3 separate regions of the Homo sapiens genome follow, and regions 2 and 3 are each linked to region 1. The links are contacts of gene promoters, found by promoter capture Hi-C in blood cells and fetal thymus (Javierre and others, 2016). All regions are on one chromosome and are shown on one strand. Each heading gives the region's core, a stretch centred on a gene start or on the middle of the fragment in contact. The rest is flanking DNA. Distances are from core to core; before and after follow the strand shown.

The links. The method cuts DNA at HindIII sites, captures the fragments that hold promoters and counts their contacts. A CHiCAGO score of 5 or more calls a contact.
Region 2: a fragment that was not itself captured here is called in contact with the fragment with the promoter of FAM171A1 in region 1 in 3 of 17 cell types (endothelial precursors, megakaryocytes and erythroblasts); the score reaches 9.0 in endothelial precursors.
Region 3: a fragment that was not itself captured here is called in contact with the fragment with the promoter of FAM171A1 in region 1 in 3 of 17 cell types (endothelial precursors, non-activated CD4 T cells and naive CD4 T cells); the score reaches 7.0 in endothelial precursors.

The regions. Positions count from the first base shown.
Region 1 is chr10:15,369,830-15,372,612 of GRCh38, reverse strand. FAM171A1 (family with sequence similarity 171 member A1) reads left to right here and starts at 1,324. Exons shown (of 8, transcript NM_001010924.2): 1 at 1,324-1,657. The coding sequence starts at 1,561. RefSeq lists silencers at 1,278-1,327, 1,338-1,567. The HindIII fragment of the contact is 10,313 bases long and covers 1-2,783 here.
Region 2 is chr10:15,223,490-15,226,342 of GRCh38, reverse strand. All of the region lies in intron 5 of FAM171A1 (family with sequence similarity 171 member A1), which reads left to right. The region is part of intron 1 of FAM171A1-AS1 (FAM171A1 antisense RNA 1); the gene reads right to left. Among named protein-coding and RNA genes, the nearest start is that of FAM171A1-AS1, 16 kb to the right of the region's middle. The HindIII fragment of the contact is 3,247 bases long and covers 1-2,853 here.
Region 3 is chr10:15,129,194-15,131,936 of GRCh38, reverse strand. NMT2 (N-myristoyltransferase 2) reads left to right here. Exons shown (of 12, transcript NM_004808.3): 7 at 1,625-1,795. Among named protein-coding and RNA genes, the nearest start is that of RPP38, 33 kb to the right of the region's middle. The HindIII fragment of the contact is 2,415 bases long and covers 98-2,512 here.

The DNA.
Region 1 (2,783 bases), core at 75-2,574:
GATCCTCCCACCTCAGCCTCCTGAGTAGTTGGGACCACAGGCATGGGCCACTATGCCTGGTTAATTTTTTTGTATTTTTGGTAGAGACAGGGTTTCACCATGTTGGCCCAGCTGGTCTCTTAACTCCTGAACTCAGGCCATCCACCTACCTCAGCCTCCCAAAGTGTTGGGATTATAGGCATGAACCATCACACCCAGCCAAGTCTGGAGGTTTTTGTGAAGAGTTTCAATTTTGGGGTCAGACTGACTGTTTTATTAGAATTTTGGCTCTGCCACTGACCAGGTATGCACTTTTGGACAAATTCCTTAACCCTCTTTAGCCTCTTTTCTCATCTGTGAATGGGGGGGATAATGCTAACTACCTCTTAGATCATGTATTGTGAAGATGGACAAAGAGTCTCTGCTTGACCGAACTACAGTCAGGCTCCGGAACCTTCTTCTAGGCTCAGTTGTGCCCTTCCTTGTAAAATCTGCTTTCAGGAAGAACCCTGCTAAGTCAGTTTACCAAGAACCCTCCACCCTGGATATCTGATCAGCTTCCCCATCCGCCCTGTCCTGCCCAGCCCTGCCAGGGGATGTCTGACTTTCAAGAATCCCCCTTCCCCCTGATGTTTCCTCTTATAATTTTTCATTCCCTGCATCCCACCCTGGTCCTCGGTTATAAATCCCCACTTGTTCCTGCTGTATTCAGAGTTGAACCCAACCTTTCTCCCCGACTGCAGAATCCCATGGTAGGGCTTATACCTATTGCGATGGTTCCAAAGAGGGTCTTCTTTGCTGTGCTTTCACACGTGTCATGGAATAGTCTTTTTTCTTTAATAGGACAGAAAGTTTTAAAGCACCTAGGGCCTCAAAAGATGTGGATTTCCTCCCCACCCTAACCCCTAGAACCATCCAAGTACCATTCCTCCTGAAGCTGTCCACCCGCCAACACGTAGGTACTGCAGGCCTACTGCAGTCTATACTGGCTTGGGGAGTGTTTTTGCGGATCTTTAACACTGGGTGTGAAATCTACGTTGGGGGACACAACTACATTAGGATGGCACCTGGTGGGGGGGTCACACCCAGATACAATGTCTCCTGCGGCCCCTTGGGTGACCTGGTGTGATGAAAAGGGCTCCGCCCTGAAAGGCAGGTCTGGCTCTTCTGCGGGGCTGCGGGGATGGGGCGCGCCGGGGCAGTGTCGCCGGGGGTCGGGCTGGGGGCGCGACGCAGCGGCGCCGGGCGGGGGCGCCCTCGGCGCCGCAGCCGCCAGGTGGCACCACGGGCCCGGGGCCTGGGCGCGGGCAGCGGCGGCGGCGGCGGGCGAGGCAGGAAGGGGTTAAGGAGCTGGCGGAGCAGCAGCAGCCGCCGCCGCCGCCGCCGCCGCGGCTCTTCGGGGAAACCCGGCGCGGGGCGCGGGAGGGAGCGGCCGGGGCGGCGGGGCCGGGCCAATCGGGCGGCGGGCCCGGCGCGCGGAGCCAGCGACATGGAGGGGGGCGCGGCGCCCGGCCGCCCGTGACGCGCCGCCGCCCGGCCCGCTCTCGGCGAGCCCGAGCCGCCGCCGGCCCCGCGGCGGAGATGAGCAGGTCCGCGACGCTGCTGCTGTGCCTGCTGGGCTGCCACGTCTGGAAGGCGGTGACCAAGACGCTGCGGGAGCCCGGCGCCGGAGCCCAAGGTCAGTGGGCGGCGGCGGGGCCGGGGGCTTTGTGTCGCGCCGGGCCTGGCGCGGAGGCGGCGGCGGCGGCGGCGGCGGCGGGAGGGTCCCGGGCCGCGTGGTGGCGACGCAGCCCGAGCCGCATCGGGAGCCTCCGGGCCTGCAGCACCCGCAACGCGCTCCCGAGGGGGCGGCGCGGGCCGGCGACGCGGGGTGACCCGGGCGGAGGCTTCGGGGGCCGGGGATCGGGGGCTGGGTCGGGCGGGGGCGCGGGCAGCTCCAGCTGCTGTCGCCGCTGCGGCGGGGGCTCGTCTGGATGCGCCCGGGGGTCCCCTTTATGCCGCGCCTCGGACACGCGGCTCTGTCTCCCATGTCGCCGCGGACAGAGGGGCCGCCCAGGGCGCGCCGCCCGATCGCGCTCCCGGCTCCCCACGCCGGGCTCGGGTCTGGGAAGTCCCAGCTCCTGGGCTGCGCTGGGGCCTTTTGTTGTGGCGGGAGGGGGTGGCTGACGCCCCGGGGTGCCCCCTGTGTCCCGGGGCCCCGAGGTCCGCTGCCGCCACTAGCCACTAGCCTGCCGCAGTTTGGGAAAGTTTGGGGGGTTCTCTCCCCCTGCCTATCTGACGTCTCTTCCAGACCATAAGGGATTTGCTCAGCGGCCCATGAGTCTTCTCTGTAAGGGAAGAAAGAATTGAACTGGGAGGCCCTCATCGCTCACCAAAAAAAAAAAAAAAAAAAAGAAAAATCCTTTCCAGATCAGTTTGTCGCCAGCTCGTGCCTTTTGTCTCGTCTTTGGCCTCCACAAATCTGCTTTCCAGCCCTGGGAGTAACGTGGTCGCCTCTGAGAATGGCCACGAGCCTGTCTTTTGTTTTTAAAATCAGCGTTTTTTGAGGGGAGTCCCCCACACCCACCCTGAGGCTTGCTTGGCACATTTTTGTGGGGACAGCGTCGAGGACTCCTCTGTTGCTGGCGTTTTCAAAAGGGCCACTGAGGCCCGCAGATGAGCCTCTGCATTCACCCAGGGCACCGCTGCCTGGACTCTTGCCGGGGGCTCAGGTCTCTGCGAGGGAGCTCCCTGCAGCCCTGCAGAACCCCGGGATTCCGAGCCCGAGGCCTGTCCCCTCAGAAGGGTGTGTGTCCTGCAAAGTT
Region 2 (2,853 bases), core at 245-2,744, 150 kb after region 1:
ATGCCAGAGAGATCACCCCGTAACCTTCACACACATGCAGTCCCGGTAACAGGCCCAGCCATAGGCGTTGATTGGAACAGAGAGGCACATGTCATTGTCCAGCCACCTCCTAAAATGCCGGCTGCACGACCAGGTTGGCGCAGCTGCAGTGGTGCGGCTTCTGCAGGAAGAAGCCTGGGTTTCTGGGGTGAGGCAGGAGGAGGCTGTAGGGTCCTGCTTGCCTTCACCACATGACCTTGCCTTGAGTCTGCAAGTCCCAGCGGCCACCTCAGCTGCTTGCTTGTGCAGAGGACACTAAGAGGCAGTGGTAAGCCCCTGGAAGAGGCTGGGAAGGGCAGAAAGAGAAGCTCAGGGTGAAGGGGGCTTGAGCAGGTAGCCCAGCTGGGCTGCTGTCACATTAGGGACTGTTGTCTGTCAGACCCCAAGGAGACAGGCTTAAGAAGGAGAGCCCTCTGGGCAGATGTCCTCACCCAGGAGCATCCCAAGGCCTCCATGCTTAGGGGCAGGTGGGCCGACTTGAGAGGCCTTGCAGTGGAGCTTTCTTTGGTTCGTGCAGCAGGAACAACCTGGTTCCTCCCTTGCTCTGTCTCAGCAGTGCCCGAGGCTCTCACCGCATGATGAAAGGGCGCCCTTCCTGGTTGCAACACCCAGCGGTCCCATATTCAGCAGAAGAGACTTTGCAGAGGCCTGTGTGCTCTGCCATCCGGTACCACCAGTAAAGAATCCTGGCCCTGGTGCCCGCTGCTCCGGTGGTGAAACTGTCTGCATCCCACAGTGGCATCAGGATTCCGCCATGAGAAGCATGTGTTTCTAGTACACAATTTGCTAATTCCCATACTCCCTGGAGCTTATTTCCTCCCACAAAACACGGAAAGCATGAAATGCTTTTGCCAGTAACAGCATGATTGTTGAATCCCCAAAGAGTGTCACGCTTTAGCCATAGTAGGCTCTTCCCCAGCTGGTTCTGTTCCCTTTAGTTTGAAAGGGCAGCATCCCAGGCATGATCAGACTGCCATGGGGATATCCTTCCCTGCCTACTGCACCCAGCCTTTCACAGGTTACCAGATATTATTTTTTGATTGCACCTGTAGCTTCCACTCATTCTGAAGGTCTCTGGAGTTCCTACTCTATGCATATCTCTAGGTGCTGAGAAGAAAACAAAAGGAACGCAAGACACAGGCCACACCCATGGAGTTTACGATCTAAGAAAGGAGATAAGACTGAGGGCCACAGGCTAGCCACGGAAGGCAACGTGTGTTTTTGGCAAATGGGTGATGCAGTAACACTTGCCCAGGATGTGCCAAGACACGGAAGACCCATGTGTCCTAGAAAGGCCTCTGGAAAAACACTGGGCTTGATTTGAATCTTGAAAGACTGGGTAGATTTTTGGAAGAGAGAAAAACTATATGAGGTTGGAGCTACATTTGCAGGCAAAGTCACAGAATGGGTAGAGGTGTGCATTGTGAAGACTGCCTGGCAGGAACTAAAGAGGGGGTTGGGGACTGTATTAGTCTGTTTTCACGCTGCTGATAAAGACATACCTGAGACTGGGAAATTTATAAAGAAAAAGAGGTTTAATAGACTCACAGTTCCACATGGCTGGGGAGGCCTCACAATCATGGCAGAAGGCAAAAGGCACATCTTACATGGTGGCAGGCAAGAGAGAAAACTTGTAAAGGGAAACTCCCCCTTATAAAACCATTAGATCTCCTGAGACTTATTCACTATCACAAGAACAGCACAGGAAAGACCTGCCGCCATGATTCAGTTATCTCCCACCAGGTGCCTCCCACAACACACAGGAATTGTGGGAGCTACAATTCAAGATGAGATCTGGGTGGGGACATAGCCAAACCCTATCAGGGGTAGAAGAGAGGAAGGAAGTGGGAGAAGCTCCAACCATGTGTGCCTCCGTTTCCAGGTCCCCCATGTCCTCCTGCAGCAAATGGGGTGTGAAGATCGTCCCAGAAGGATGCCTAACTCCTTTCCAGCCCGGGCACAGCTGCTCCGTCCTGTTCACCCGGGGCCTCTGTGCTCCCATCCCCACTTCCATCTTCACATGTCATCCAGGCCCACCACACCAGGCCTTTGTACACACTGATCCCTGGGTAGAATGTCCTCCTTCTCTTTCTCCTGGCTCCCGCCCTGCCCCATCTCTCCCCATCACTGACAACCCCTGCCTGTTCATCAAAACTAAACTCATCCCAATCCTTCTACACCCACCCCAGGTGGGTGTTTCCTAGCTGACCCTCCAAGCAGCTATGTCTTCTTCAGCCAATGGACTTTCTGGCCTCCACCAGCACCACTGCTGGACTGCAGGCCCTCCAGAGTGAACTTGGGGACTCATTAGTCTGGTGGGGTCTATATATGTGGTCACCCACTAGGCTTGTCCCAAATGTAATGTGGAGGGGTTTTTTTTGTTTTGTTTTGTTTTATTTTTAATTGAGATAGAATCTTGCTCTGTCGCCCAGGCTGGAGTGCAGTGGCTCAATCTCAGCTCACCGCAACCTCCGCCTCACAGGTTCAAGTGATTCTCCTGCCTCAGCCACCCCAGTTGCTGGAATTACAGATGGGAGCCACCACACCCAGCTAATTTTCATAGTTTTAGTAGAGACGGGGTTTTGCTGTGTTGCTCAGACTGGTCTCAAACTCCTGACCTCAAGTGATCCACCAGCCTCAGCCTCCCAAAGTGCTGGGATTACAGGCATGAGCCACCACCCCCAGCCAATGTGGAGCTATTTTTTAAAGTCTGTTTCAATTGGTTATCGTGTGTTTTAGAAGGGAAAGGCAACTTAGGGAGAAAGGCAGGAGAAAGGCAGGTGTGCATTCATGAATGAGCAGGACTTACTCTGC
Region 3 (2,743 bases), core at 56-2,555, 240 kb after region 1:
CCAAGATTATACCACTGCACTCCAGCATGGGTGACAGAGCAAGACTTCATCTCAAAAAAAAAAAATTACTTAAAAATTTTTTAGGAGAGATAAAGCTTTCTCTCCATAGGATACATTGCACTTTTAGTTTGGATCTCCAGCCCGGAAAGTCAAAGATCCAGCTATGAAAGTCAAAGATGTCATATATAATTGGTCTCTTTACTTGTCAGTGTATTAGGTTAGCTTATTTACTGTGAAAAGCATTTGATCTCAAGGAATATTTTGTGCCAAATGAAGTGTGTACCTGGAAACAGAACCAGGAACAGGATTTGAAGATCTAGGAGGTTTACTGTAGTTCAGAGCGCACCAGCTCTGGTCTGCTCAAAGCCCCTCTCAGGGGTCCCAGGGGTTTGTATCACACTCCAAAGCAACATCTTATCAGATTCTGCACCAGGATGACTCAGTTATTACCATAATTTAGGAAAAACAGATCTAGAAACTTAAAGACGGGCAGGTCGTAGTGATTCATGCTTGTAATCCTAGCACTGGGAGGCTGAGATGGGAGGATTGCTTGAGGCCAGGAGGTCGAGACCAGCCTGGTCAACATAGCGAGACCTCATCTCAAAAAAGGAAAAAAAAAAAAAAGGAAAGAAACGTAAAGAGCCATAGCTGATCCATTTTCTAAACTGAAAACGTATAATGGACCAAAGTCCCAAAATGTATTTAGAACAAGAGGGTTGGAGCCTCCGTGCGTTTTACAATCATTTTGGCAGGGAGATATGGGGAATAGTGTTTCCGTCTGAATTTGTGAAATGTCTAAGTGATAGAATATTTTTGTTAAATATTGTGTTAAAGAATGGCTTTCAGGCCAGGTGCGGTGGGTGGTTCACGCCTATAATCCCAGCACTTTGGGAGATCGAGGCAGGTAGATCATGAGGTCAGGAATGCGAGACCAGCGTAGCCAACATGGTGAAACCCTGTCTTTACTAAAAATACAAAAATGAGCTGGGCATGGTGGCGTGCACCTGTAATTCCAGCTACTTAGGAGGCTGACGCAGGAGAATCGTTTGAACCCAGGAGTAAGAGGTTACAGTGAGCCAAGATTGCGCCATTGCACTCCAGCCTGGGTGACAGTGCGACAATCTGTCTCAAAAAAAAAAAAAAAAAAAAAGAAAGAAAGAAGAAAATAGAATGGCCTTTATGTTCTTTTTTTTCTTTTTCTTTCTTTTCTTTTTTTTTTTTTTTTTTTTTTTTGAGACAGGGCCTTGCTCTGTTGTCCAGGCTGGAGGGCAGTGATGCAATCATGGCTCACTGCACCCTCTGCCTCTCAGGCTCAAGTGATCCTTCCACCTCAGCCTCCCAAGTAGCTGGGACCACATGCATGCGGCAACATGACTGGCTGGTGTTTGTTTTTTGTAGAGATGAGAGTCTCAGTGTTGCCCAGGCTGGTCTGGAACTCCTGGTCTCAAGCAATCCACCTGCCTTGGCCTCCCAAAGTGCTGAGATTACAGGCGACAGCCAGTGTTCCCAGCCTGCATTCTTATTCTTGGATATTTCCTGGGTATCATCTTATTTTTTAAAATGTGTTGACTCTTCATTTTGAATCTCGTTTTGACTCTTAATCTTCACCATCTTTATTTCTTAGTGTGAAGAAGATGGTAGAAATCAACTTTCTTTGTGTTCATAAGAAGTTGAGATCGAAACGGGTAGCCCCAGTGCTAATCCGAGAGATCACTAGAAGAGTGAACCTGGAAGGGATCTTCCAGGCTGTGTACACCGCGGGAGTGGTTCTTCCTAAGCCCATAGCCACATGCAGGTACCAGTACCATATTTCTACCTCAGGTCCTCCCTTTATCAAAAATGTTGAGCCTCACCACTGTTCTGCTAGATGTAGTTTTTGCTGGTAGCAGAGATGGAGACTAGAACCTAGAATCACCAAGTCCAGTATTCTTTCTGGTATATCATTTGCCACTTGGTGATTAAAAAAAAGTTTTTGACATTTTCCTACTAATGATGCTGGATCTATACTTTTTTTTTTTTTTTTTTTTTTGAGGCAGACTCTTACTCTGTTGCCCAGGCTGGAATGCAGTGGCGTGATATTGGCTCACCGCAAACTCGCCTCCTGGGTTCAAGTGATTCTCCTGCCTCAGCTTCCCGAGTAGCTGGGATTACAGGCATGTGCCACCACACACAGCTAATTTTTGTATTTTTAGTAGAGACAGGGTTTCACCATGTTGGTCAGGCTGGTCTTGAACTCCTGACCTCGTGTGGATCTATACTTCTAAGTCTATTCCATGTGAAAGATGAATGCTGTCTCTACATGGGAAAACCTAGGACATGATGATCTTAAAATTCCAATGTCATACCATTTTCTTTCCACCCCAAAGATCAGTTTTCTGCCATGCTTTGCAGCACCACCAAAGTGTCCTGAAAGTCTAATAAGCATCCATTCAAAAGCCTCAGATGTATTTGTTTGTTCAGAGTAGGAAGACCTAAGCTATGTTTTTACAACTTCGTCTGCACTAGTCAAGCTTTCACAGGTTATTCCAGTGAGAAAATGATCAGATTCCCACAAGACTAACCTGTTTCTAAAACATCAGAGTTTATCTCCCCACCCCTCACCACTGTTTTTATTGACTCAAATAGGATGAAACTTAAAATTACTATATCCTGTTAAATTATTACATTCGTTAAGTAAATGGAATACTAGACTTCAGGGGTATATTTTAATATAAATCACTTATCCCAGAGCCTGGAATCACTG